Regions from separate parts of the Homo sapiens genome. Here all the other regions are linked to region 3. Evidence: promoter capture Hi-C in human tissues and cell types (Jung and others, 2019). All regions are on one chromosome and are shown on one strand. The core of a region is centred on a gene start or on the middle of the fragment in contact, and the rest is flanking DNA. Distances in the headings are between cores, read along the strand shown. Region 1 overlaps SLC41A2 (solute carrier family 41 member 2). Region 2 overlaps SLC41A2 (solute carrier family 41 member 2). Region 3 holds the start of EID3 (EP300 interacting inhibitor of differentiation 3).

What was found. The method cuts DNA at HindIII sites, captures the fragments that hold promoters and counts their contacts. A contact is called where the count stands out against the background at its distance.
Region 1: a fragment that was not itself captured here is called in contact with the fragment with the promoter of EID3 in region 3 in 1 of the 25 tissues and cell types used here (heart right ventricle).
Region 2: a contact is called between a fragment that was not itself captured here and the fragment with the promoter of EID3 in region 3, in 1 of the 25 tissues and cell types used here (dorsolateral prefrontal cortex).

What each region holds. Positions count from the first base shown.
Region 1 is chr12:104,882,071-104,886,527 of GRCh38, reverse strand. SLC41A2 (solute carrier family 41 member 2) reads left to right here. Exons shown (of 11, transcript NM_001352171.3): 6 at 89-235. Among named protein-coding and RNA genes, the nearest start is that of SLC41A2, 74 kb to the left of the region's middle. RefSeq lists an enhancer at 1,748-1,917. The HindIII fragment of the contact is 4,056 bases long and covers 1-3,677 here.
Region 2 is chr12:104,925,694-104,930,245 of GRCh38, reverse strand. SLC41A2 (solute carrier family 41 member 2) reads left to right here. Exons shown (of 11, transcript NM_001352171.3): 2 at 1,552-2,273. The coding sequence starts at 1,719. Among named protein-coding and RNA genes, the nearest start is that of SLC41A2, 30 kb to the left of the region's middle. RefSeq lists an enhancer at 621-915 and a silencer at 621-915. The HindIII fragment of the contact is 4,880 bases long and covers 1-3,888 here.
Region 3 is chr12:104,302,021-104,306,369 of GRCh38, reverse strand. EID3 (EP300 interacting inhibitor of differentiation 3) reads right to left here and starts at 2,631. Exons shown (of 1, transcript NM_001008394.3): 1 at 1,165-2,631. The coding sequence starts at 2,435. The coding sequence ends at 1,434. The region is part of intron 4 of TXNRD1 (thioredoxin reductase 1); the gene reads right to left. RefSeq lists enhancers at 2,194-2,253, 2,284-2,523, 1,831-2,703 and a silencer at 2,564-2,793. The HindIII fragment of the contact is 3,401 bases long and covers 1,249-4,349 here.

The DNA of each region.
Region 1 (4,457 bases), core at 400-2,899, 580 kb before region 3:
TGTTTTTCTATCCTACACATTTTGGTATTTGGGGGATTGATTTTCTTTAAATCATAGCCTAAAAAGTAATGAACATTCTTTCTTCTAGGAATAATAATGGTTGGGGTTATCGTTGGTTCAAAGAAGACTGGTATAAATCCTGATAATGTTGCTACACCCATTGCTGCTAGTTTTGGCGACCTTATAACTCTTGCCATATTGGCTTGGATAAGTCAGGGCTTATACTCCTGTCTTGGTAAGTTGATTTAAAACTAAATATTGTGTGTTGTCTCAAGTCTCTTTAAATAAATATTGTTGCAGCAATGCCATGAATCCATGGTAGCCTTCATTTGCATTAGAACTGCTGTTGAGACTGATTAGGATAACTATCATTTGTTTTATACCTACTATGTGTTATGATTCCCACTTTCTTTTTTCTCGTAGAGTTTAAAACTCTGTAAAATAAGGATTATCATCTCTAATTTTAGATGAGAAAAGCAAGGATCATAGAAGTTATGTATGTTACCCAAGTTTATATAACTACTAGTAAAAAAGTTGAACACAGGCTTATCATATTTTGTGATTTCTGTCCTTTCCTGTAAGTGTACAGCAGCTAGGAGTCAACCTGCAGTGTTCTCTGTATAGAACCATCTCAGAATATAAGCTTATAAGTGGTACTTAAAATTTACCAATGGAATGTTTTTCCCCATCAGAAACCCACACCAATAAGTAGCTTCATGGCAGTTAACAAAAGGGAAAAAAAAATCACCACAAAAATTAGACTGAATGCTGTATAAAGTTGGAGCCATATATGTAATTCCTGATAAATAGTGATAGAGTATTTATGGAATCTAATGAGTTGTTTTAATGCAAATTTGTGTTCTGGAAATGGTAAATACATATGATTTGTGAGTGTTGATGACATGCTAAAAGTTCATTGTGGTTTTATTATTTTTAGATGCCAAATTAAGGAAAACAGAAACTTACAGTAATACAAGAAAAAAACATGAGTATATAAGCCAAGCCAGAGGCAAACATTTATTCACAAATCCTCACATATGTTCATGGATTCTATACAGATTTATGGTGTACTTTAAAATAAATCTAAAGCATGTTTCGTTTTAAGAAGTAAGGGTCTCAGATATATGTTCTTGAAATAAAGAAAGGGCTTTAACCAACCAAAGGCAATAATTTTCTGTGACTTTTGGAGACATCAAGGAAGCTTCACTTAGCATATAAAATTGCCTTAAGTTATTTAGTGAGTGGCATAAAAACAATATTTAATAAGACTTGGTGTGTATGTTCAAGGAATATTTCTCTCATTTAGAAGATAAGGTTGCATCCACTTTAAGTGAGGTATAAGACAAGAAATGATCAATGGCCTAAATGTAAGCTCTTGTTCCCAAAGGTCTTGGCTTTTTTATGTTGTTGTGCAATTTGCAAAGAATGATACATGTTTAAGTATATTAAGGACAACACTTAATTCCCTTCCCTCCCACTCAAAAAAAAAAGCACAGGAAGTGGGTTATGTTATTAAAGGGATAATCTTAAATTTGCTCTAATTTGTATTGTTTGGATGATAAATTGATAATACTTTAATTTAGAAATAGATGCTGAAGTCAGGGATTAAAATATTAGCTTATGGCTAGCATTAGAAAATGTGGCTTAATATTCTTGTCCTACTCTATTAAACTCACCCACACACTCTCAGCCAGACAGTTGGATAACTTGTAGTCCTGACCCCATAGAATAAGCTGTTAACTGTATTGGTGAAGAGAGACTGTCACTAATAGGCTGTATCTCAAAAGAGAAAGCCAGTAACGGCATGAGTTAGGCATGAGTTAGTGCCCCTTTCCCTAGTATTACTAATTAGATAAGTCTCTCCCAATTGGAGGAGGAGGAAAGAGAGAAGAAAAGAGGGGTAGAAGAGGATAAAGGGTTATGTCTCAATATCATTAAAAGGACAGAAATTCTATGGGTTTGCCCAGGAACATAGAGGGTGGGGGTAGGGATGGAGGGCTGGTAGTGGTTCTGGGACAGGTTACCCTATATACATAAAAAATACAGGTATACAGTTCCAAGATGGCCAAATATGAATAGCTCCAGTCTACAGCTCTCAGTGAGCGACGCAGAAGATGGGTGATTTCTGCATTTCCAACTGAGGTACTGGGTTCGTCTCATTGGGACTAGTTGGACTGTGGGTGCAGCCCACAGTGTGTGAGCCGAAGCAGGGTGGGGCACTGCCTCACCAGGGAAGCGCAAGGGGTCAGGGAATTACCTTTCCTAGCCAAGGGAAGCTGTGACAGATGGTACCTGGAAAATTGGGACACTCCTGCCCTAATACTGCACTTTTCCAAGAGTCTTAGCAAACAGCACACCAGGAGATTATATCCCACACTTGGCTTGGTGGGTCCCACACCCATGGAGCCTTGCTCACTGCTAGCACAGCAGTCTGAGATGGAACTGCGAGGTGGCAGCGAGGCTGGGGGAGGGGCGTCCGCCATTGCTGAGGCTTGACTAGGTAAACAAAGCGGCTGGGAAGCTCAAACTGGGTGGAGCCCACCACAGCTCAATGAGGCCTGCCTGCCTCTGTAGACTCCACCTCTGGAAGCAGGACATAGCTGAATAAAAGGCAGCAGAAACTTCTGCGGACTTAAACGTCCCTGTCTGACAGCTTTGAAGAGAGTAGTGGTTCTCCCAGCACGGAGTTTGAGATCTGAGAACGGACAGACTGCCTCCTCAAGTGGGTCCCTGACCCCCAAGTAGCCTAACTGGGAGACATCTCCCAGTAGGGGCCAACTGACACCTCATACAGCCGGGTGTCCCTCTGAGATGAAACTTCCAGAGGAAGGATCAGGCAGCAACATTTGCTGTTGTGCAATATTTGCTGCTCTGCAGCCTCCGCTGGTGATACCCAGGAAAACAGGGTCTGGAGTGGACCTCCAGCAAACTCCAACAGACCTGCAGCTGAGGGTCCTGACTGTTAGAAGGAAAACTAACAAACAGAAATGAATAGCATCAACAGCAACAAAAAGGACATCCACATCAAAACCCCATCTGTAGGTCACCATCATCAAAGACCAAAGGTAGATAAAACCACAAAGATGGGGAGAAACCAGAGCAGAAAAGCTGAAAATTCTAAAAACCGAACGCCTCTTCTCCTCCAAAGATTCACAGCTCCTCAGCAATGGAACAAAACTGGATGGAGAATGACTTTGACGAGTTGACTAAAGTAGGCTTCAGAAGATTGGTAATAACAGACTTCTCCAAAGTACAGGAGGATGTTCAAACCCATTGCAAGGAAGCTAAAAACCTTGAAAAAAGACTAGATGAATGGCTAACTAGAATAAACAGTGTAGAGAAGACCTTAAATGACCCAATGGAGCCGAAAACCATGGCATGAGAACTACATGATGCATGCACAAGCTTCAGTAGCCGATTTGATCAAGTGGAAGAAAGGGTATCAGTGATTGAAGATCAAATGAATGAAATGAAGCAAGAAGAGAAGTTTAGAGAAAAAAGAGTAAAAAGAAATGAACAAAGCCTCCAAGAAATATGGGACTATGTGAAAAGACCAAATCTACATTTGATTGGTATACCTGAAAGTGATGAGGAGAATGGAACCAAGTTGGAAAACACTCTTCAGGATATTATCCAGGAGAACTTCCCCAACCTAGCAAGACAGGCCAACATTCAAATTCAGGAAATACAGAGAACGTCACAAAGATACTCCTTGAGAAGAGCAACCCCAAGACACATAATTGTCAGATTCACCAAGGTTGAAATGAAGGAAAAAATGTTAAAGGCAGCCAGAGAGAAAGGTTGGGTTACCCACAAAGGGAAGCCCATCAGACTAACAGTGGATCTCTCAGCAGAAACTCTACAAGCCAGAAGAGAGTGGGGGCCAATATTCAACATTCTTAAAGAAAAGAATTTTCAACCCAGAATTTCATATCCAGCCAAACTAAGCTTCATAAGTGAAGGAGAAATAAAATACTTTACAGACAAGCAAATGCTGAGAGATTTTGTCACCACCAGGCCTGCCCTAAAAGAGCTCCTGAAGGAAGCACTAAACATGGAAAGGAAAAACCAGTACCAGCCACTGCAAAAACATGCCAAATTGTAAATACCATCGATGCTATGAAGAAACTGCATCAATTAATGGGCAAAAAAAACCAGCGAACATCATGATGACAGGATCAAATTCACACATAACAATATTAATGTTAAATGTAAATGGACTAAATGCCCCAATTAAAAGACACAGACTGGCAAATTGGATAAAGAGTCAAGACCCATCAGTGTGCTGTATTCAGGAGACCCATCTTATGTGCAGAGACATGCATAGGCTCAAAATAAAGGGATGGAGGAAGATCTATCAAGCAAATGGAAAACAAAAAAAAAAGCAGGGGTTGCAATCCTAGTCTCTGATAAAACAGACTTTAAACCAACAAAAATCAAAAGAGACAAAGAAAGCC
Region 2 (4,552 bases), core at 199-2,698, 630 kb before region 3:
TAAGTGGCAAAAATGGGAACTAGTGCTTAATCTACTCATTGCAAGTCCACAGGAAGTCTGCACCATAATCATCACATGGAAAAGTTAAAAATAAAAAAGATTTATGGGCCTCAAACACACACATTCTGAGTCAGTAGGTCTGGTGTCCTGGAATCTGTATTTTAAAAATGTTCCTCAGAAGGAATTCCCAGATCCCAGACCCCTCTGTAATCACAAGAGAGAGGAAAGGAAAGTGAGTGAGTGATGGAATTGATGAACCAGGCCCTAACACCCACTTACGTCCTACATAGCCCCTTCTCTTTCTCCCTTTGCCATTCCTTGCTATTGATCTTCCTATCCAGAGAGGAGATGGATATTCTAAGACATTGGAAACAAATACTGAGGAATATAGTAGTTTTCATTAAAAGCAGCAATAGTAGCAGCAACAATTCTCAGTCTAGCTTGGCAGGAACGCAGTCCAGTTAGGTTTTGGGGCCACCCATCCCTTATCAAATCAGTGCCATTTTTTTGGTCTTAGATGCTCTTGGAAGTATAAGACAGGCCTAGGTGTTTCTGAGAAACACCTGATAGCTTGGAAAGCCTTGCCAGCTATGGCAGCAATTGTCAGGTTTTCTTCCTGGTCAGGTCGTGGGTGACCTTGCAGCTTCAGTGCCCATCACTCTTTGATGTGCCACAGTTATGTGTTTGTGTCTCTTAGTTCAAAGTCTTCAAAGAGACTCTAGTCACTGAGTGGCCAGCCAGTCAGGGTTCTACCCTGGGATTATGGGCCAGAGCAGACTGAGAACTATGAATGGACAGGGCAGGGCATAAATAAGTGCGTTACAAGCTTTCTTCTGGCTGGTTTGCAAATGGAGGTTTAAGTGAATATTTGTAATTTCTTTTTAGTTTTGTTATTCCTAAATGAAAGAAGGTTTATATTCCTAAATCAATTATAATGAGCTTTTATATCTCAGAACTACAAATATGACTCCAGCCTCATTTTATTTGTGAAATAAATGCCCTATATAGTATTCAGGATACCTACCAAGTGTTTTTATAGTAAACATCATCCTTGTCTCTTCATATCTTAATAATAAAATGTATATTATATTAAGTTGTAAATAAAGTAATATGGTTTATTATTTAATGTTTAAAGTATAATGCCATATATCTTTTGTTGTGTACTGACAGATGCAAAGGGTATAGCAATTTGATTCTGAGTCCTTGCAATAGTAATAAAAGCCATTACTTTATTTAAAACATTTGTCCACTGTGGGATTTCAAGAGGCAGTTGAAGACCTTACGTGGATATTGATCACATAAAGTATGCAAAGATAAGAAATACTTTTAACCAAGATTGAGCACAAAAATAGCTCTGTATTATATTTCTGTACACAAAGCAGTTGTGTGGCACAAAACAGTTATGTTTTAAGCCCACAAAGTATAGTATCAGTACCGTAGGGTTGGTTTAAGAACATGTGTTTTTAATACCTTTATAAGAATTGAAGTATCTATCTTGATACTGAAACTATCTTGTTTCTCTGATTTTTAAAAATTATTTTATTTTTCCAGATCCAGTCCTTCTGTGGAACTTCTGAACATCTTTTATTAGTGGAAATATTTTCTACACAATGAAGTCAACAACTTAATTTAAACCAGTGTTTGTGCGGTTCTGATTCATCTGCTGTGGTTCCCGAAGCTTGAGATCTAAGGAGTACAGGGTCTTTTGTGATGACAATATGACTAATAGTAAAGGAAGATCTATTACCGATAAAACAAGTGGTGGTCCAAGTAGTGGAGGAGGTTTTGTAGATTGGACTTTACGTTTAAACACAATTCAATCCGACAAGTTTTTAAATTTACTCTTGAGTATGGTTCCAGTGATTTACCAGAAAAACCAAGAAGACAGGCACAAAAAAGCAAACGGCATTTGGCAAGATGGATTATCAACTGCAGTACAGACTTTTAGTAATAGATCTGAGCAACACATGGAGTATCACAGTTTCTCAGAGCAGTCTTTTCATGCCAATAATGGGCACGCATCATCAAGCTGCAGCCAAAAGTATGATGACTATGCCAATTATAATTACTGTGATGGAAGGGAGACTTCAGAAACCACTGCCATGTTACAAGATGAAGATATATCTAGTGATGGTGATGAAGATGCTATTGTAGAAGTGACCCCAAAATTACCAAAGGAATCCAGTGGCATCATGGCATTGCAAATACTTGTGCCCTTTTTGCTAGCTGGTTTTGGAACAGTTTCAGCTGGCATGGTACTGGATATAGTACAGGTGGGTTTTCATCTTTATTTAACTTTACTGTCTTTTTTTGTTATTCCATTTCTGTTTAAAATGCTTTATGTAGGTTACTACTCTCAAACATTCACTTTAGATTTAATTTATCCCTTGGTAAAATGAACAGATGCTGACTCTGGGAGAGAATCTATTTCTAGGTGGGAGTTTTTCTTTTTTCCCCTTTAGAAATTCTGAAAGAATAGTTATTCTGACTGTAAAGTAACTCTTCTCTACAGACCTTGGAAGAGCTTGGTTAAAAGAAAATCTTCCCAAAATGTTATATTTAAATACTTTCTTACTTTTAAAATAAAAATTAATATATACTCATTAAAATGACTTCAAACATTAGAGGGTATTAAATAAAACATGAAGTTTCTCCTATTCCTTATCTCCGAATCAAAACTCTCCTCCTCTCCAGAGATTATCATTGTGAAGTGTTCGTTGTATACACTTGCAGCCTCTTTTCTATGCTTACATATATACATATGAGAGTTTTTCCAAAAATAAAAATAAAATGTTGCATATATTTTTCTGCAACTTATTTTCATTGCTTAATAATACATCTCTCCAAATTGGTATACAAAGATTTTCTGCATTTTAAACTGAGTGCATGATATTCCATTGTATGTATATACCAAAATTTACTTACTCATTCTTCCTTATTGGTGCTGTAATAACTATCCTTATAAGAATATATATTCATATAGTAATGTTTTCATAGGATAGATTTAAAAACAGCATTGTTGGATATTAGGGTATGAATTAATATCTATGTTTAAAATTTTGTAGATACTGTCAAGTCGCATTCCAAAAAATTTGTATCAATTTATACTCCTACTGTCAAAATAGAAGTACTTTTATTTTTTCATGTCCCTATCAACATTGGGTATTTATTTTATTTTATTTTATTTTGAGACAGGGTCTCGCTCTGTGGCCTAGGTCACTACACCCTCAACCTCCTGGGCTCAAGTAACCCTCCCACCTCAGCCTCTTGAGTGGCTGGTACTACAGGCGCACTACACCTCACTAATTAAAAAAAATTTTTTTTTAGAGACAAGGTCTTGCTGTGTTGCCCAGGCGGGTCTCAAACTCCTGGGCTCAAGCAATCCTCCCACCTTGGCCTTTCCAAAGTGCTAGGGATTGCAGGTGTGTACCACTGTGCCCAGCCAACACTGGGTCTTCTTGATCTTTTTCATATTTGCCAAATGGCAGGAAAATGTTATCATGTTTTAATTAACATTATTATTAATGTTTAGCATATTGTCATGTGTTTATTGGCCATTCTTTTTCTGTGAATTATTTTTTGTATCTTTTATTTATTTTTAAAATTTATGTGCTACTTATTGATTTGTAGGTATTCTCTTTTTTTTTTTATTTTTTTTAAGGCGCAGTCTAGCTTTGTCACCCAGGCTGGAGTGCAGTGGCGTGATCTTGGCTCACTGCAATCTCCACCTCCCAAGTTCAAGTGATTCTCCTGCCTCAGCCTCCTGAGTAGCTGGGACCACAGGCTCACGCTACCATGCCTGGCTAATTTTTGTATTTTTAGTAGAGATGTTGGTTAGGCTGGTCTCAATCTCCTGACCTCAAGTGATCCGCCTGCCTCTGCCTCCCAAAGTGCTGGGATTACAGGCATGACCCACCATGTCTAGCCGATTTGTAGGTGTTCTTAATGCCTTGTGGTTACCAAATACCTATTATATAATTATCTTTCTAAAGTAATAAGTTGCCAAAATGTGACATTTTGTTCTGTCAGTTTTTGTTTATCAGTCATAGAAAGGTTGCCTCTGGGAAACTATTAGATATATTATCTTATAATGTGCTCTTATCTTTCATTGTTTGTTCCCTAAAGGAACCTCAGGTTATTTGTGACTCTAAGATGCTATTCAAGAGGTAACATTTTTATCTAAATGGAAAATATACATAAATAGAAACATTTTTCCACCATCAGTTGGAGAAAGGATATGAGAGGAACTATATTGCAGTACATTAAAGTTTTAAATAGATAATAATACCAAAGAGAGAGCAAACCTACATCCACTTGAAATATAATTGTTTTAGGTTCTTATAGTAGTATCACAGCTGCGACAATAAATAGGCTGGTTTTGGTTTGGATTTTTTCTTGAGATACCAATTATTCTGAAGAAACACTCAGTATTTAACTATAGAATGGTAACATCTATAGGACTAAGGTGTTAGAGTACAGCTTAGCAGAATGTTTATATAGCTCATTATGTATCTGGAGTAATGTTGACTTACTTCCTGATACTGAGAGAACA
Region 3 (4,349 bases), core at 1,382-3,881:
TCTTAATGACCCAAACTTTTGGCAATAATCTCCAAATAAGGTTGTAATTTATGCAACGGAAAGAAAAAAGCCTTTATGGCTTTACACTAAGTGAAGAACATCCAGATAAACTAACATGTTTTAGTTTCAGCAAGGTCAGTTTCCTGGCATTTAAAGCCCTATTAAGAAATGCAAAATTTGGCTCACACTTGTAATCCCAGCATTTCCGGAGGCCGAGGCGGGTGGATCACTTGGGGCCAGGTGTTCGAGACCAGCCTGGCTACCATGGCGAAACTCTGTTCCTACTAAAAATACAAGTATTTGCTGGGTGTGATGGCACACACCTGTAATCCCGGCTACTTGGGAGGCTGAGGCACAAGAATCGCCTGAACCCCGCAGGCAGAGGTTGCAGTGGGCCGAGATTGCACCACTGCACCCCAGCCTGGGCAAGAGTGATACTCTGTCTCGAGGGGGAAAAAAAAAGATAGAAATGCAAAATTAAAGTGGGACAAATATTCAAAGTTGTTACATGATGAAAAAGCGTAGATTGTGAAGGACATTCTATGTACTAGCAAAGACCACAAAGGGACACTAGGGGCCAGAGAAGAAATTCAGTAGATAAAAACTACAACTGGATAGCAAGATCTTGTGTTCAATGTATAATAGTTTGACAAAAACATCTTCTCAGGATATTAATAGATGAAGTTATTCAATTGTTGCCCAGCTTATCAAATATAATAGTTTTTCCATAAATCTAATGGTCCTCTCGTGCCTAACTTCTAACAATTCCATGCATTTGACCTTGCTATTCTCTTGCCTAGAATGCCTTTTCCTTCTTCGTGTTTCTACTCACCTTTCACCCTTAGCTGATACCTCAACTACTACAGCAGAGACACTACTTTTGCTGAGTACAATAACAGAAATTGTTTAGAATATGGATACTCACTCATAAATCCTAAGTCTTCCTTGCAATGACTTTTTTAGTCTTAATGTTGCATATTCACTGCCTTACAGACAGGTTTTTTTTTTTAACTTTTGTTTTTTACCCACTCTTTGCCCAACCTGGTTAGGAACCCTTTCTGGGATTCTCTTGGTTCCCTATGACAGAGAAAGCAACGCATCACAGAGCATCATCACTGATTTTCGTAAATTATTATGTTTTGCAAATTATCAAATATCCCTTAATTTGGTATCCAAAACTTGTTTTTATTAATAGTCTTAAAGGGCATTCAATAAAACGTTCCCATAAATATGCCAGTGAATTTGTTTTAATAACAGAAGATCATGACCTTATAAATTACTAAGAAAAATATGCTGCACAGTAAAACAATGTCTGATGTTCTTGAAAATACTTTTTCACTTTACAAGAGATACAATATGTGCTTCAGTTTACATTTTACTCTCCATCTAACTTCAGAAAAAAAACACAAAAAGGATGCTATACTAAGAAATCTTTAGTATGAGGAGTATGTAATCATAGCCTCAGAAATTTCAAAAGCTGCCACAATGTTTTTCCACTCCTGTAAAGTCAAAGATATAACTCCCTGTTTCCTGCCATGGCAACTGGAATCATTTCCCTCACCCATTTGGTTAACATTCATCGGCTCTAATATTGGCAGCCTGTCTTCATCAAGCCTTATTCTTGCAAAACCATCTCTTACAATAAAAGAAACATAAAATATATTCTCCACAGTACGAGAAAAAGAGTTTGGATCAATCACAAACTCAAAATAGGACACAGGAGTATCAGGATACTTTCGAAAGTAGGTTTGCAACAATCCCAAAATCCTTTCTACGTTTTTTTCTGTCGCTTCTGGATAACTACTCAGGTCCAACTTCTGCAACTTTGTAGGCATGTTGCCATTTTCTTCCATCTTGCGAACTTTTTTCTGGTGTTCAAGTCGGGGCTTTGGTGCAGAACGTTCTAGCTTGAATGAACCAAAAACAAAATGGAATGTCTCAGCTTTTACCATCCAGGATGTTGCTTCCTTTTCTATTGCCTTCCAGAAGGAAAGAGCTATGCTATCATCACAATCACTCAACTTGTCAGGATCGCCTTCCATCCAATTCAGACCCACGAACAGAAACAGAAAGTCACAAAATGCTAACTGATTAAAGAAGTTCATATCTGAGTTTAACTGCTTTGCCTTTTCTTTACCCAAATCAGAAGCCATAACAAGAAACCGGGCGTCGAGGGCTGCTTCTCTGGTTCGGCTCACGCCATCAAAGAGGACGTTGGCTTCCTCCAGAGCCTCGGTTAAGGAGTTGTTCGCCGAGCTCACGATGTCCTCCCGGTTCTGCCGCACGCAGTACATGAGCTGCCGGTACTGCCTGCGGATGCTGCGGCACTTCTCCTCGTCAGCGGTGAGCTCCAGGAGCTTTGGGTCTACGTCGGCCTCCCCAGAGCTGAGGTCGTCGGAGCAGCCCGCGGCCCTCACTGACACATCCATCTTCATCAGCGCTCCCTCCGCCGCCGCCTACTTCGCCGCGTACTCGCTACCGGGGATGATCACGAGCTGCTCCTCTCCTTTCTCTTCGTCTCCCTTCCGGGAAGCTTTTTCAACCAACATGCCGGCCACGGGTATCTCTGAGGTAACGGCCCTCCCAGCGTGTGGAAAGTGGCGGCAGTTAGAGCCGAGGACGCCCGCCCATGCGCACTAGCGGCCCGGCCCGGCGCGACCCGCCCCCAGCACGCTCCGCGGGAAGACAGCCCCGCCCCGGCCCGGCCCAGCCACAAGCCGAGGCGCTCGCTCATAGACCAGCGCGGCGCTCCCAACACGCGCAATGATGGGCCCTGACCTCACACGCGACTAATGCCCGCTCAGGGGACAGCTATTCTTTTTCAAAGCGTTTACCGACTGGATCACCTCACTTTAAAAAAAAACACTTTTGGACAACTTTACACAAAACTATTGAGGAGACTAAAGGTCCTGCGCTTTAAAACGCTCGCTGCCATCATATACTGCAGTGAGGTCGACCTGGTTTTGGTTTTTTGTGAACTAAATCTGGCTGGACTGTAAACCGTCGGTAAGGCCAAGGACCGTGAAAAGCAGAAACTCCATTAAGCAGGCTAAACTCTCAGTTCTTTTGCAAGGTGGTGTTTGGACTCATTATACAAATGTAAATCGGGTTAATTACTTTCACATGTCCTCTTAAAAACCAAGCCCCCTCCAATACCCATCCTGAGTATCTGTGGGATCGGGGGAGCCTCCAATATCCGTGCTAACCCCTGCAGGAAACTGGGTGCTGGGCACGGGCATTACTCAGGTGAACTTTGGTTCTCCACTACCCAGGAGTGGAAGAATAGAATGGGTAGAGATCTCTGCAAAAGAGCTATTTACTTGGAAGCTTGCCAACAGCTAAAGGCCACCGACACTGAATGGGTAGTAACTCTGAACCCTAAAAGGTGGGCAAAGCTATGAAAATTTCAGATACAGTCTAAGGATATGAAAGCTTAATCTGTAAACTGGGTGAGTAATCTGCGTGGGAAAATTTACCCATTGGATTTAATGGGGTCACTGGAAACTCAAGTGCAGTTAAAGACGTGACTCCTTATCTGTCTCACCAGCAGCAAATAGCAAAGTATACATAACAATGGGAATGGCCGGGCGCGGTGGCTCACGCCTGCAATCCCAGCACTTTGGGAGGCCGAGGCGGGCGGATCACGAGGTCAGGAGATCGAGACCATCTTGGCTAACCCGGTGAAACCCCGTCTCTACTAAAACTACAAAAAATTAGCCGGGCGCGGTGGCAGGCGCCTATAGTCCCAGCTACTCGGTAGGCTGAGGCAGAAGAATGGCGTGAACCCAGGAGGCGGAGTTTGCAGTGAGCCGAGATCGGGCCACTGCACTCCAGCCTGGGCTATAGAGCGAGACTCCGTCTCAAAAAAAAAAAAAAAAAAAAAGGGAATGAATACATCTGGTTTTTAAAGAGAACATGCACACAAACAACCCATGAGCATCAACAGCTTTTCAAACCTGCAACAGGTACACCTTAAAAAAAAAAAGACACCCACAATTGCACCTGTCCAATTGCCAGTTTCATAGCACCAGGAAGTAAATTAGCCCTACCTTCCTTTATGCATATAGACTTGTTCTATTTCTTTAGCATTAGCAGAAAGTTTTTTGTAAATGTATAAACAGCAAAATCTAGTAGTATTAAGTTACTCCAAAATCCTTATATTACCATTTGCTCCCAATTATTTTATTAACTAGGGGTAATTCAGGGAGATACGTGCATTTTTCAAAACACCATGCATTACGGTTAGTTGTACATATATATGATCCTACCCTATTAGATTGTTGGCTTCTCAAAAACAAAAGCTGCGTTTTAGATCTTCCAAACATAGCTGTTTTTACACGGAGATGCAC